Linked DNA regions of Homo sapiens: all the other regions are linked to region 3. Evidence: promoter capture Hi-C in 16 types of primary human blood cells and fetal thymus (Javierre and others, 2016). All regions are on one chromosome and are shown on one strand. The core of a region is centred on a gene start or on the middle of the fragment in contact, and the rest is flanking DNA. Distances in the headings are between cores, read along the strand shown. Region 1 overlaps ING1 (inhibitor of growth family member 1). Region 2 overlaps NAXD (NAD(P)HX dehydratase). Region 3 holds the start of PRECSIT (p53 regulated carcinoma associated Stat3 activating long intergenic non-protein coding transcript).

Region 1 (3,743 bases), core at 93-2,592, 150 kb before region 3:
TAGCAGTGATCCCGGGCCTGTGGGCTCGGGGCCGGGGCTGCAGTTCGGACCGCCTCCCGCGACCCGCGGGGCCGGCTCGGAGACAGTTTCAGGCCGCATCTCTGCTGACCCGAGGGTGGGGCCGCGCGTGGCCGTGGAAACGTGAGTGACTGGGGCTGCGTCCACGAGGGGGACCCTCGGCGCAGAAACTTTTCTGGAAGGTGCTGTCCTCGGGCCGGACGGGCCCCGTGGGGTGACCCTGGGGCTCCGGACGGAAGGAAGGCAGGGGCTGAGACCACTTTGATCGTTCGACGATAGAAAAAAGTAGCGCGGGGCGGGGTGCAGGGTTCCAGCTGTCCAGACAGCAAAGTTCATGGAGCCACTTTGTCCTCCTGTCGTTGCTGGGGAGAGCCTGGCTTGCTGCTTGCTTCATGTTCACCTAGGGTGATGAACTTTTTGGCTTCAGGAAAGATCACAGTCCTGCCCCCCCGGGAGTACTGGAGCGGCGCAGCTGGGAGCGCCGAGAAGCGAGCGAATCTGTCGCAAGGGTCACAGCTCCTTGGACTTCGGTGTAAATGCTGAGCTCTGCCGCGTAGTTCTGAAAGACTTCCACAGACCTACTCTGTAGGAAGTCAAACGTCTTTTGCTTAGTAGGCATCAGTTGTATGTTAATTCATAAACTTGGATTATAATTAGTTTGTCGATTTAAAATGGTGTTTGAGGTTGCTTGAATTATTTTTCAAACATTATCATAAAAATACCCACCCACCCCCTGGGAAGTTCGCTTCATAAAGAACTTCAGTGCAACCCGTATGTAAAATTAAAATACATTTAAAATAATTGGACAAACCAATTTAAATGTTGCTACAACCCCATTTAATCTGTAAATTGCATGTGCTGCTGCTTTCCATGGTAATGTTGGTGTGGAATATGTTTGGAAAAAAGGCAGTAGTGTCTGAAGCTGAGTTGCTGGCATTGAAAAAGCAGAGTGTCTGGAAGGATGGCTTCCTATTTAGCAGTGGTGTTGTTCCTGTTTATAAATATTTGTACTTAGTGGCTTTGTTGATAAAATACTTTGCTTGGAGTATCAAAGAAATATTAGGTAACAGAAATACTTCTTGGTAATTTTGCGATGGGATATCTGTTTCTCTTGCCCACAAATTAGGCTTCACCTGGATGGAAGCTTGCTTGTGATGTAAAATAACTTCTGTGTTATTAAATTTTAAATTTATATGATACAGTTTTCTGTGAAATGACAATATTGTCTTTAGAACTTTGATTACTGATGAAAAGAAGTGATACCATTTTGTAACCCTAAATCCATTTAAAAATAAATGGTACACATATTTTAACATTATGATAAATAAGTTGAATAAATTGGTATTACTTGGATACGTTGAACACAGCTATTTATTTTTATAATTAATTACTATATGAGACTAGGGCTTTCCTCCTGGTGGCAGGCAGCCTGCATTGTTCCTCTAGGAGTCTTCAAAGCTGTCTTTAGTTTGAGAATATACTCTGGAAAATATTACCATTTAGAGAAGCTTCAGCGTTGGCCTGAGTTCTTATGTTTACTCTAGTGTTAGGTATATGTCTTATAACTATTTGGAGATAAGATCTGGAAAGGAAGGGGGTAACATTTTAGACAATCCCTCCCACTCTCAGCCCCTCCCCTAGTTTACAAGTAGTATTGTTGGCCAGGCACGGTGGCTCACTCCTGTAATCCCAGCACCATGGGAGACCGAGGCGGGCGGATCACCTGAGGTCGAGAGTTGGGAGACCAGCCTGTCCAACATGGAGACACCCTGTCTCTACTGAAAATACAGAATTAGCCGGGCGTGGTATTACATGCCTGTAATCCCAGCTACTCGGGAGGCTGAGGCAGGAGAATCGCTTGAACCTGGGAGGCAGGTTGCAGTGAGCTGAGATCGCGCCATTGCACTCCAGCCTGGGCAACAAGAGTGAAACTCCGTTTCAACAACAACAAAAAAAGGTAGTATTGTTGCCTTGTTTAAAGAGACTGCAAAAAGGTTTTAGGAGAATAATCTGGTACTGTTTAATTTAATGGTTACTGTTTGAGGAAAAAGAACTCTGGAATTTCTGTGTATTTAAGTAGCCTTTTTAGCAAGGCTGTTTACTTCAACTAGATTTTTTAATAGCTTTTGTTTCTTGAGAAATTGCCTAATTACACTTGCCAAATTACACTTTAAAATCATATACACTGTCCTCTAACATGCCCAGGAAGGTTTACATTTAAATACTGAAGAGGTTTTCTTTTGTTTTTGATAACATTTTAAAGTCCATTGACTTTAACAGATGTGAAGATGTTTTTGTTTAAGCAGTAGATGCAAAAGTAAAACCTACCAGCTTCGCTTTAAAGCAAGGCTAGTGCATTCACTGCAGTTAAAAAATAATAATAATAGCCCATCACAGTGGTGCTTCTGTAGTCCCAGCTACTCAGGAGGCTGAGGTGGGAGGGTCCCTTGAACCTGGGAGGTCGAGGCTGCAGTGAGCCGAGATTGCACCACTGCACTCCAGCCTGGGCGACAGAGACGGACCTTGTCTCCAAAATAATAACAAGTCGTAATAATAATAAAGCAAAGCTAGGTTTTCTGGATTATTGTGGCAGAACTGTTCTTGCTGTCACTAATACAGAGGGATAACATGCTAGAATAAATGTGGGGACTGAAACTGAGGACCTAAGTCACAAAGTATCCTGGACCTTTACTGTTAACCCGGTTCTTTAAATCATAGAGAGCTATTATATAAATTTATACACATTCTCTCATTTAACAGGGTATTCTAGATGTTGGTATATTAAAATAAAGAAAATAAAGACCTTTTTTATTTGAAATATTCAAATAATTTATAATATATTTTATTAATGTTTGTATATTGTGTATAAATGTAATAAATACCATGTTTATATAATGTTATATGTATATTAATAATTGTATTCAAATAGAAACATTTGAGTAAAAATGATGGCAGTATAGACATAGTCATTAATAGAAAGTATTAATAAATGTTGGGTCCCGAGCACTGCACCTCATTTAAACGTTTCCTCTTAATGGCTTCGGGCGTTGTCACCCGTGCGTGCCTGGGAACTGTTCTCAGGTTCCCTGGGGTGGCTGGAGCGGCTCCTGCCGCTGTGGAAGCTGGGCCGGCATTTGTGTTGTGTTGTGTTGTGTTGTGTTGTGTTGTGGTTAGCACAGGAACAGATAGGCCCGGGAGAGCCTGTGGCTGGTGGGCTTTGTTCTGGGCAAGCCGTGCGCTGGCCCCTAGGCTCCCTGCCAGCCCTCTCCGTAGACCCGTCCGGGGCCGTGTGGGTTGTCCCGGTGTCCTGCTCGCGAGTGACGCCTGTCCTTCTTGCCCCCAGAGATCCTGAAGGAGCTAGACGAGTGCTACGAGCGCTTCAGTCGCGAGACAGACGGGGCGCAGAAGCGGCGGATGCTGCACTGTGTGCAGCGCGCGCTGATCCGCAGCCAGGAGCTGGGCGACGAGAAGATCCAGATCGTGAGCCAGATGGTGGAGCTGGTGGAGAACCGCACGCGGCAGGTGGACAGCCACGTGGAGCTGTTCGAGGCGCAGCAGGAGCTGGGCGACACAGCGGGCAACAGCGGCAAGGCTGGCGCGGACAGGCCCAAAGGCGAGGCGGCAGCGCAGGCTGACAAGCCCAACAGCAAGCGCTCACGGCGGCAGCGCAACAACGAGAACCGTGAGAACGCGTCCAGCAACCACGACCACGACGACGGCGCCTC
Region 2 (3,369 bases), core at 846-3,345, 240 kb before region 3:
TTTGTTAGGCGAGCAGCTAATGCTTTGTCAGCTTTCAAATTTCATTTAATATACACGGCTTTAGTTTTCAATACTTTAAATTATTCTTAGCATGTATTTTTATGTCCAGAATTGGTGGGTTCTTGGTCTCACTGACTTCAAGAATGAAGCCGTGGACCCTCGCGGTGAGTGTTACAGCTCTTAAGGTGGCGCGTCTGGAGTCTGTTCCTTCTGATGTTCAGATGTGTTCGGAGTTTCTTCCTTCTGGTGGGTTCGTGGTCTCTGTCTCAGGAGTGAGGCTACAGACCTTCGCGGTGAGTGTTACAGCTCTTAAGGCAGCGCGTCTGGAGTTGTTCGTTCCTCCCGGTGGGCTCGTGGTCTCGCTGGCTTCAGGAGTGAAGCTGCAGATCTTCGCGGTGACTGTTACAGCTCATAAAAGCAGTGTGGACCCAAAGAGTGAGCAGTAGCAAGATTTATTGCAAAGAGCGAAAGAACAAAGTTTCCACAGCGTGGAAGGGGACCCGAGCGGGTTACCAATGCTGGCTCGGGCAGCCTGCTTTTATTCTCTTATCCGGCCCCGCCCACATCCTGCTGATTGGTAGAGCCGAGTGGCCTGTTTTGTCAGGGCACTGATTGGTGTGTTTACAATCCCTGAGCTAGACACAAAGGTTCTCCACGTCCCCATCAGATTAGTTAGATACAGAGTTTCGACACACAGGTTCTCCAAGGCCCCACCAGAGCATCTAGATACAGAGTGTCGATAGGTGCACTCACAAACCCTGAGTTAGACACAGAGTGCTGATTGGTGTATTTACAAACCTTGAGCTAGATACAGAGTGCCGATTGGTGTATTTACAATCCCTGACCTAGACATAAAGGTTCTCCAAGGCCCCACCAGAGCAGCTAGATACAGAGTGTCGATTGGTGCATTCACAAACCCTGAGCTAAACACAGGGTGCTGATTGGTGCACTCACAAACCCTGAGCTAGACACAGGGTGCTGATTGGTGTGTTTACAATCCCTGAGCTAGATATAAAGACTCTCCACATCCCCACCAGACTCAGGAGCCCAGCTGGCTTCACCCAGTGGATCCCGCACCAGGGCTGCAGGTGGAGCTGCCTGCCAGTCCTGCGCCGTGCGTTCGCATTCCTCAGCCCTTGGGTGGTCGATGGGACTGGGTGCCGTGGAGCAGGGGGTGGTGCTCGTCGGGGAGGCTCGGGCCGCACAGGAGCCCATGGAGGGGGTGGGAGGCTCAGGCATGGCGGGCTGCAGGTCCCGAGCCCTGCCCGGCGGGAAGGCAGCTAAGGCCCGGTGAGAAATTGAGCACAGTGCCGGTGGGCTGGCACTGCTGCAGGACCCAGTACACCCTCTGCAGCCGCTGGCCCGGGTGCTAAGTCCCTCATTGCCCCGGGCCAGCAGGGCTGGCCGGCTGCTCCGAGTGCGGGGCCCGCCAAGCCCACGCCCACCCGGAACTCCAGCTGGCCCGCAAGCGCTGCAGGCAGCCCCAGTTCCCGCTCGCGCCTCTCCCTCCACACCTCCCTGCAAGCTGAGGGAGTGGGCTCCAGCCTTGGCCAGCCCAGAAAGGGGCTCCCACAGTGCAGTGGTGGGCTGAAGGGCTCCTCAAATGCCGCCAAAGTGGGAGCCCAGGCAGAGGAGGTGCTGAGAGCAAGCGAGGGCTCTGAGGACTGCCAGCATGCTGTCACCTCTCATTTTGTTTAATGTTTTCTATTTTAATGTTTTGTATTATCAGGTGTCTGTCAAGTCAGGATCACTTTACATGCTACTGCAGTGTATAATCTTGTCACAATGTATTGGCTCATAATAATAAAAACCACCAAATATTACATATATGTGTGTGTATCTATACATGTAGTTTTTTTTTTTTAATAGAAAACCTTTGAAACCTTCACTGTAATCCTATCAGGGAAAAATGATTCCCTGTTTATTATTGTTGTTATTTTAAAACGTGTAAGTAAAGTGATATGAAAAATACATAATGACTAATGATTTGGGGAATTCTCAGGAATTCAGATTTCCTGCCTCCGAATGCTGCGTATTAGTATCTGTTGGAGAACTGGATGCCCTTGCTGGGGCGGGGGCTGTCTTCATGGGTTAGCCTAGGAGCCCAGCTGTTGTTCATAGCGTTTCCAGTGGGCTTCGCCTTTCAGAGTTCCCAGTGTCCTGCCTTGTTTACGGGCTCTGCGAGTTCATTGGGTCTTTCTGCTTCTCTATTTTATTCATTTACTTGATTATTTTCCATTTATTGTTTGATGGCCTGATGTTGCATTTTATTAAGAGTCTGCTCAATTTTCTGTCACTCTTGGGAAAAGTGTCTTAGTCGGTTTTGCGCTGCTGTAGCCGTACCACAGACTGGGTAATTGATAATGAACAGGCGTTTACTGGCTCACAGTTCTGAAGGTGGATGTCCAACATCAAGGTGCCGGCATCTGGCGAGGGCAGAAGGGCAGGAGAGAGACCCTTATGCCTCTTTTAAAGGTCATTAAACCAACCCATGAGGACACTGCCACATCACCTTTTAAAGGCCCCACCTCCCAGGACCCTTCCCTTGGCAATTAAGTTTCACCATGAGTTTTGAGAAGACACATACCCACACCATAGCAGCAGGCATGGTGCTCAGTCTGGTTTTCTCTTCTGGCAGGGCATTTTGGAAGTGTCAAAGGCCAGGGACATCCCTGTTGTCATCGACGCGGTGAGTTGACTTCTCTCCTCCTGGCTCGGACTCCCGGAAGGCCTGTGCAGTGAGCACGGCTCCTTGTTCTGTGCAGGATGGCCTGTGGCTGGTCGCTCAGCAGCCGGCCCTCATCCATGGCTACCGGAAGGCTGTGCTCACTCCCAACCACGTGGAGTTCAGCAGACTGTATGACGCTGTGGTGAGTCAGTGGACCCCCTGGAGGGTAGATGCAAGCCCTGTTCGTCCTGAAGAGGGTGAAGGACGAGCTCCATGCTTCTGCCCAGCCTGTCCCTGTGGACACACCTGCAAGTAATCGCTGTGCCTCTCCCAGCGGATGGCGCGTCTTCCCATTAATGCGCTTGGATTGGATGAACGATGGTGTAGTGGGCTTGGGACAGGCAGGGACTCGGGTCAGTCAGCCCCTCCTGCAGTGCACTCTGGACAGGTCACTTTGTCTGTGTCCTGAGTGCCTCATCTGTAATGTGATGATGGCATCAGCTTCACGGGGTTGTGAGGATGAGATGAGGAAACCTATGTAAAGCCGTGAGTCCCCACATGGTAAGTGTCCCATCAATGTTAGTGCCCAGTACGACTGGAATTTGTATTACTCCTGCAAAGCTCTCAGAACCCAGTCTTGGGTGGTCCTCCTTCAGCCTGCTCTGATGAGGTAGAGGATGGGCACTGGAGCAGGCACCGTG
Region 3 (3,546 bases), core at 784-3,283:
GGGCAGTGGTGGAGGTGTTTGGCCAAAGAGTGACCATCATCTCAGTCTGACAGAGACTGTCCTAGTGTTAGCATTAAAAGTCCCATGTCCATAAAAACCCCTCAGTAGGCTGGGCACGGTGGCTCATGCCTGTAATCCCAGCACTTTGGGAGCTGAGGCAAGTGGATCACTTGAGGTCAGGAGTTCGAGACCAGCCTGGCCAACATGGTGAAACCCCATCTCTACTAAATATTGAAAAATTAGCCAGCATGGTGGTGGGTTCCTGTAATCCCTGCCACTCAGGGAGGCTGAGACAGGAGAATTGCTTGAACCTGGAAAGTGGAGGTTGTAGTGAGCTAAAATCACGCCATTGCACTCTAGCCTGGGTAACAGAGAGAGACGCTCTGTCTCAAAACAAAGAAACAAAAACAAACAAACCTTCAGTCCCAAGCAAATTGGGACAGTTGGTGACCCTGGTGGAGCACATGCTGTAAGATTATTTCCTAAACTATGAGTGGATAAGAATTGTTCTGAGTCTGTCCCTGTTCAGAGTCCTCATTCTTTTTCCTTTTCCTGTCAAAGCTAGTTTGATTCCTAGCAGGATTCTAGGTTAAACAACGGTTTCTTCTCAGACCTCTGGAATAGGTCCCATTGGCAGGCCACCCACATTGTCCTGAAAGTGTTCCTGACTGTCCACACGCATTAGTCCACAGGACGGAGCCACACAGCCAGGACGGAGCCGCACATCTGTTCTCCTCCACCTTTGGTCAATTCTATGCCCACCTGGTTCTTGGAAATGAACCAGGATATGTAACAAAATCCATTTTTTTCTCCTTAGGATGAAATGATGTTGAAGGAAAGAATGTTATTTGAGGACCTGCTGTCTGTCCTTTTGTTTAAAGTTGCCATTTCCAAGAACCTAATGACGACCTTAAGTGAGGAATTAGTGTGCTCATAAAAAAGTTTTAGACGTTTTACGCTTACAGGAAAATGGTGAGGATAATGCAGAGAGTTCTCATGCAACAGAAATTTCTACTATTATTCATGTCTTACATGAGATGGGCACACCCTGTCCCCGTGTCCGAGGACTGGACAAGCCCACTCTAGCGGTGCACAGCTGGGGCGTGCCCCTCGGCAGTGGGGTGACCTGGCCCTCTCGCCCAGTGATGTCCTCATGCTTTGTGTCACGTGAACCACAAAATCTGAGTGAAAACGAAAGTCCATGAATGTCCAGGGCAGCTACCAGACGTGCGCAAGTAAGTCTCATGAAACAAAAGCTTCCCTGGATGGGGACAAAACACACTTCCTTCCGCTTGTCACCATCCCTGGCTCCTTCAACTCGGTCCGTCTCCATGACGTGTTCCTCTGCTTCTCTTCCTCCGAATAAAAAGGAAACATGCCTCGTAAGGACAGCAGTGCCGGGCTGGAGCCGCCTCTCCCCATCAGCACTAATGGCGTGGTACCTCTCTGCCCGCCCTTCTCTCTCCTCACCTGTGTTTTCCTTTCTTCCCGAACCTCCTCTTGGCTGAGGCCTCATGGGAAAAATAGGGGCACTCGCCCCATGGGCCCCAGGGAAATGCCAGTACCCCGGGCCGGAGAGTAGCCGAGCCCCAGACTGAGTCGTTGCTCCATGGGCCACAAAAGCTGGTTCCCGCACAGCAGCCGCCCTGGGCCCCGGCAGACACGACAGAATGGGTTTCCTTACACAAACCGCGCTTGGCAGATGTTGCCTGAAAGACAGGAACTCCGAAATTCCAACAGAACGGCCAGCGGGTGGCTCTCTGCTCTGGCAGGCTGCAGGCTCTCAGGGACGCCATGTCTCCGGAAGGTCAGCGTCAAATGCTGGTGAGAACTCACTCACTCCTCACCTCCGTGACAGGCACGTGTGTTGGCTCCACCAGGGTGCAGAAGCCACACGAGCTGCTTTAACAGAAGACATTCATGTAAAGCACAGCTCTCGGGCCGTGGGGCTGTTAACCAGGAGGGTGCACAGTGCATGCACCGCCCAGGTTCCGGTCAGTTTTGCTCCCACAGTCATCACCCTGGAGGGCGTTTCATGTTGTTGCTGTGAGAATTTGCCGTTGCTTGAGTGAGTCATGCTGACGTGGCCCCTACTCCAGGGTTTCCAGTCTTTCTGCTCCTAGACTGACTCAGCGCTGGTCATTAGGTGCTGTCCATCAAGGGGAACTTGCCCTGGGCATGGAAAATGCTGACCAGCTCCCTGTTTTGGAAAATGACCTCATCCCCAGGCTGCCCACAGGAGGCGGAGCATGCCAATGCCGTTCCTTACTGGTGTGTATATTACTGTTTTTGTCCTTTTCATGCAGCCTGCGGAGTGTACCTCTATAGCTGTCATTTCACTCCTGTGTTTTCTCGGCCTTGGGCGAGGATCCCATGCTGCTGGTAATGAAAGCTGCCTGTTCCCTCGGTTGTTTTCACAGTCCCTCCTTTCTCTTCCAGAGAGAGGTTTTGTTTTGTTTTGTTTTGTTTGAGACAGGATCTCACTCTGTCACCTAGGCTGGAGTGCAGTGGCATGATCTTGGCTCCCTGCAACCCTGCCTCCCAGGCTCCCATCCTCCCTGCAACCCATCGTCCCACCTGTGAAGGGAAAATAAATCTTGGGCCCCCAAACTCAAGCCAAAGGGAAAAGTCAAGCTGGGAACTGGGTCATGCAAACCTGCCTCCCCTTTTGGTCCCTAAATAAGATGCTGCAAGATGAAAAACTGCACACCTCCCCTATATTTTGTCCACAAGGAAATTCCTAGTGAGCTCCGCAATCTTTACTGTAAGGTGTTTCTGTTAAGATTTCACCACAGCAATGCAAATCGATAGCTCATCTTTACAGGTGCAGTCAACCCCTGCCCGCCAGACACAAATGCAAACCTGATTGTTCCCCTGCCCCCTTTGTCTAAGTCATCTTGTGTAAAAATAATGCAGATTCAATGAGCCAAACGCATGACTATTTTTCTCTACCCGCCTCTTAGATGAAAATTGTGTACTTGTCATTATCTCACCCTTTCCCCTTTAAATTTGGAGCCCTCAAAATCATCTTCGGAGAAAGGTACAGACTGTCTCCCGAGTGTTCGTCCTTAACTTTGGCGAGTAAACCTCCTAAAATGATTGAGACTTGTCTTGTCATTTTTCTCAATTGATACACCTCAGTCTCCCAAGTAGCTGGGACTACAGGCATGCGCCACCAAGCCCAGCTAATTTTTGTATTTTTTGTAGAGACAGGGTCTCACGTTGTTGCCCAGGCTGGTCTTGAACCCCTGAGCTCAAACAACCTGCCCGCCCCGGCCTCCCAAAGTGCTGGGATTACAGGCGTGAGCCACTACGCCTAGCCAAGAGAATTTTAAAACCATTGAGGAAATAGTGCCATTGTTGTGAATCAGAGACTTGATGTGCTATTTCATGTAGTGGTTCCTGTCGTTTTGCTTGCAAAATTGGCTTCAATTATCTTGAATTATATGAACTGTCAGAAAAGCCCTGCGGCAGATGATGGTAACGAAAAGACATCCTTTAGCAGACAGGGAATAGGACTGATTCACTGATGCATCTGAGTTGCAA

What was found. Contacts are between HindIII fragments. The CHiCAGO score rates a contact against its expected background, and 5 or more counts as called.
Region 1: a fragment that was not itself captured here is called in contact with the fragment with the promoter of PRECSIT in region 3 in 1 of 17 cell types (endothelial precursors); the score reaches 6.5 in endothelial precursors.
Region 2: a contact is called between a fragment that was not itself captured here and the fragment with the promoter of PRECSIT in region 3, in 1 of 17 cell types (naive B cells). The highest score is 5.2, in naive B cells.

The regions. Positions count from the first base shown.
Region 1 is chr13:110,715,868-110,719,610 of GRCh38, forward strand. ING1 (inhibitor of growth family member 1) reads left to right here. Exons shown (of 2, transcript NM_198219.3): 2 at 3,362-3,743. Among named protein-coding and RNA genes, the nearest start is that of ING1, 4.0 kb to the left of the region's middle. RefSeq lists silencers at 1-179, 210-259 and enhancers at 1-680, 550-639, 3,403-3,743. The HindIII fragment of the contact is 364 bases long and covers 1,161-1,524 here.
Region 2 is chr13:110,631,907-110,635,275 of GRCh38, forward strand. It overlaps NAXD (NAD(P)HX dehydratase), which reads left to right. Exons shown (of 10, transcript NM_001242882.2): 6 at 2,639-2,689; 7 at 2,766-2,870. Among named protein-coding and RNA genes, the nearest start is that of NAXD-AS1, 17 kb to the left of the region's middle. RefSeq lists enhancers at 660-1,322, 2,317-3,146, 3,147-3,369. The HindIII fragment of the contact is 6,807 bases long and covers 1-3,369 here.
Region 3 is chr13:110,868,275-110,871,820 of GRCh38, forward strand. It overlaps PRECSIT (p53 regulated carcinoma associated Stat3 activating long intergenic non-protein coding transcript), which reads right to left and starts at 2,034. Exons shown (of 1, transcript NR_027701.1): 1 at 1-2,034. RefSeq lists enhancers at 1,091-1,777, 1,135-2,334. The HindIII fragment of the contact is 3,703 bases long and covers 1,255-3,546 here.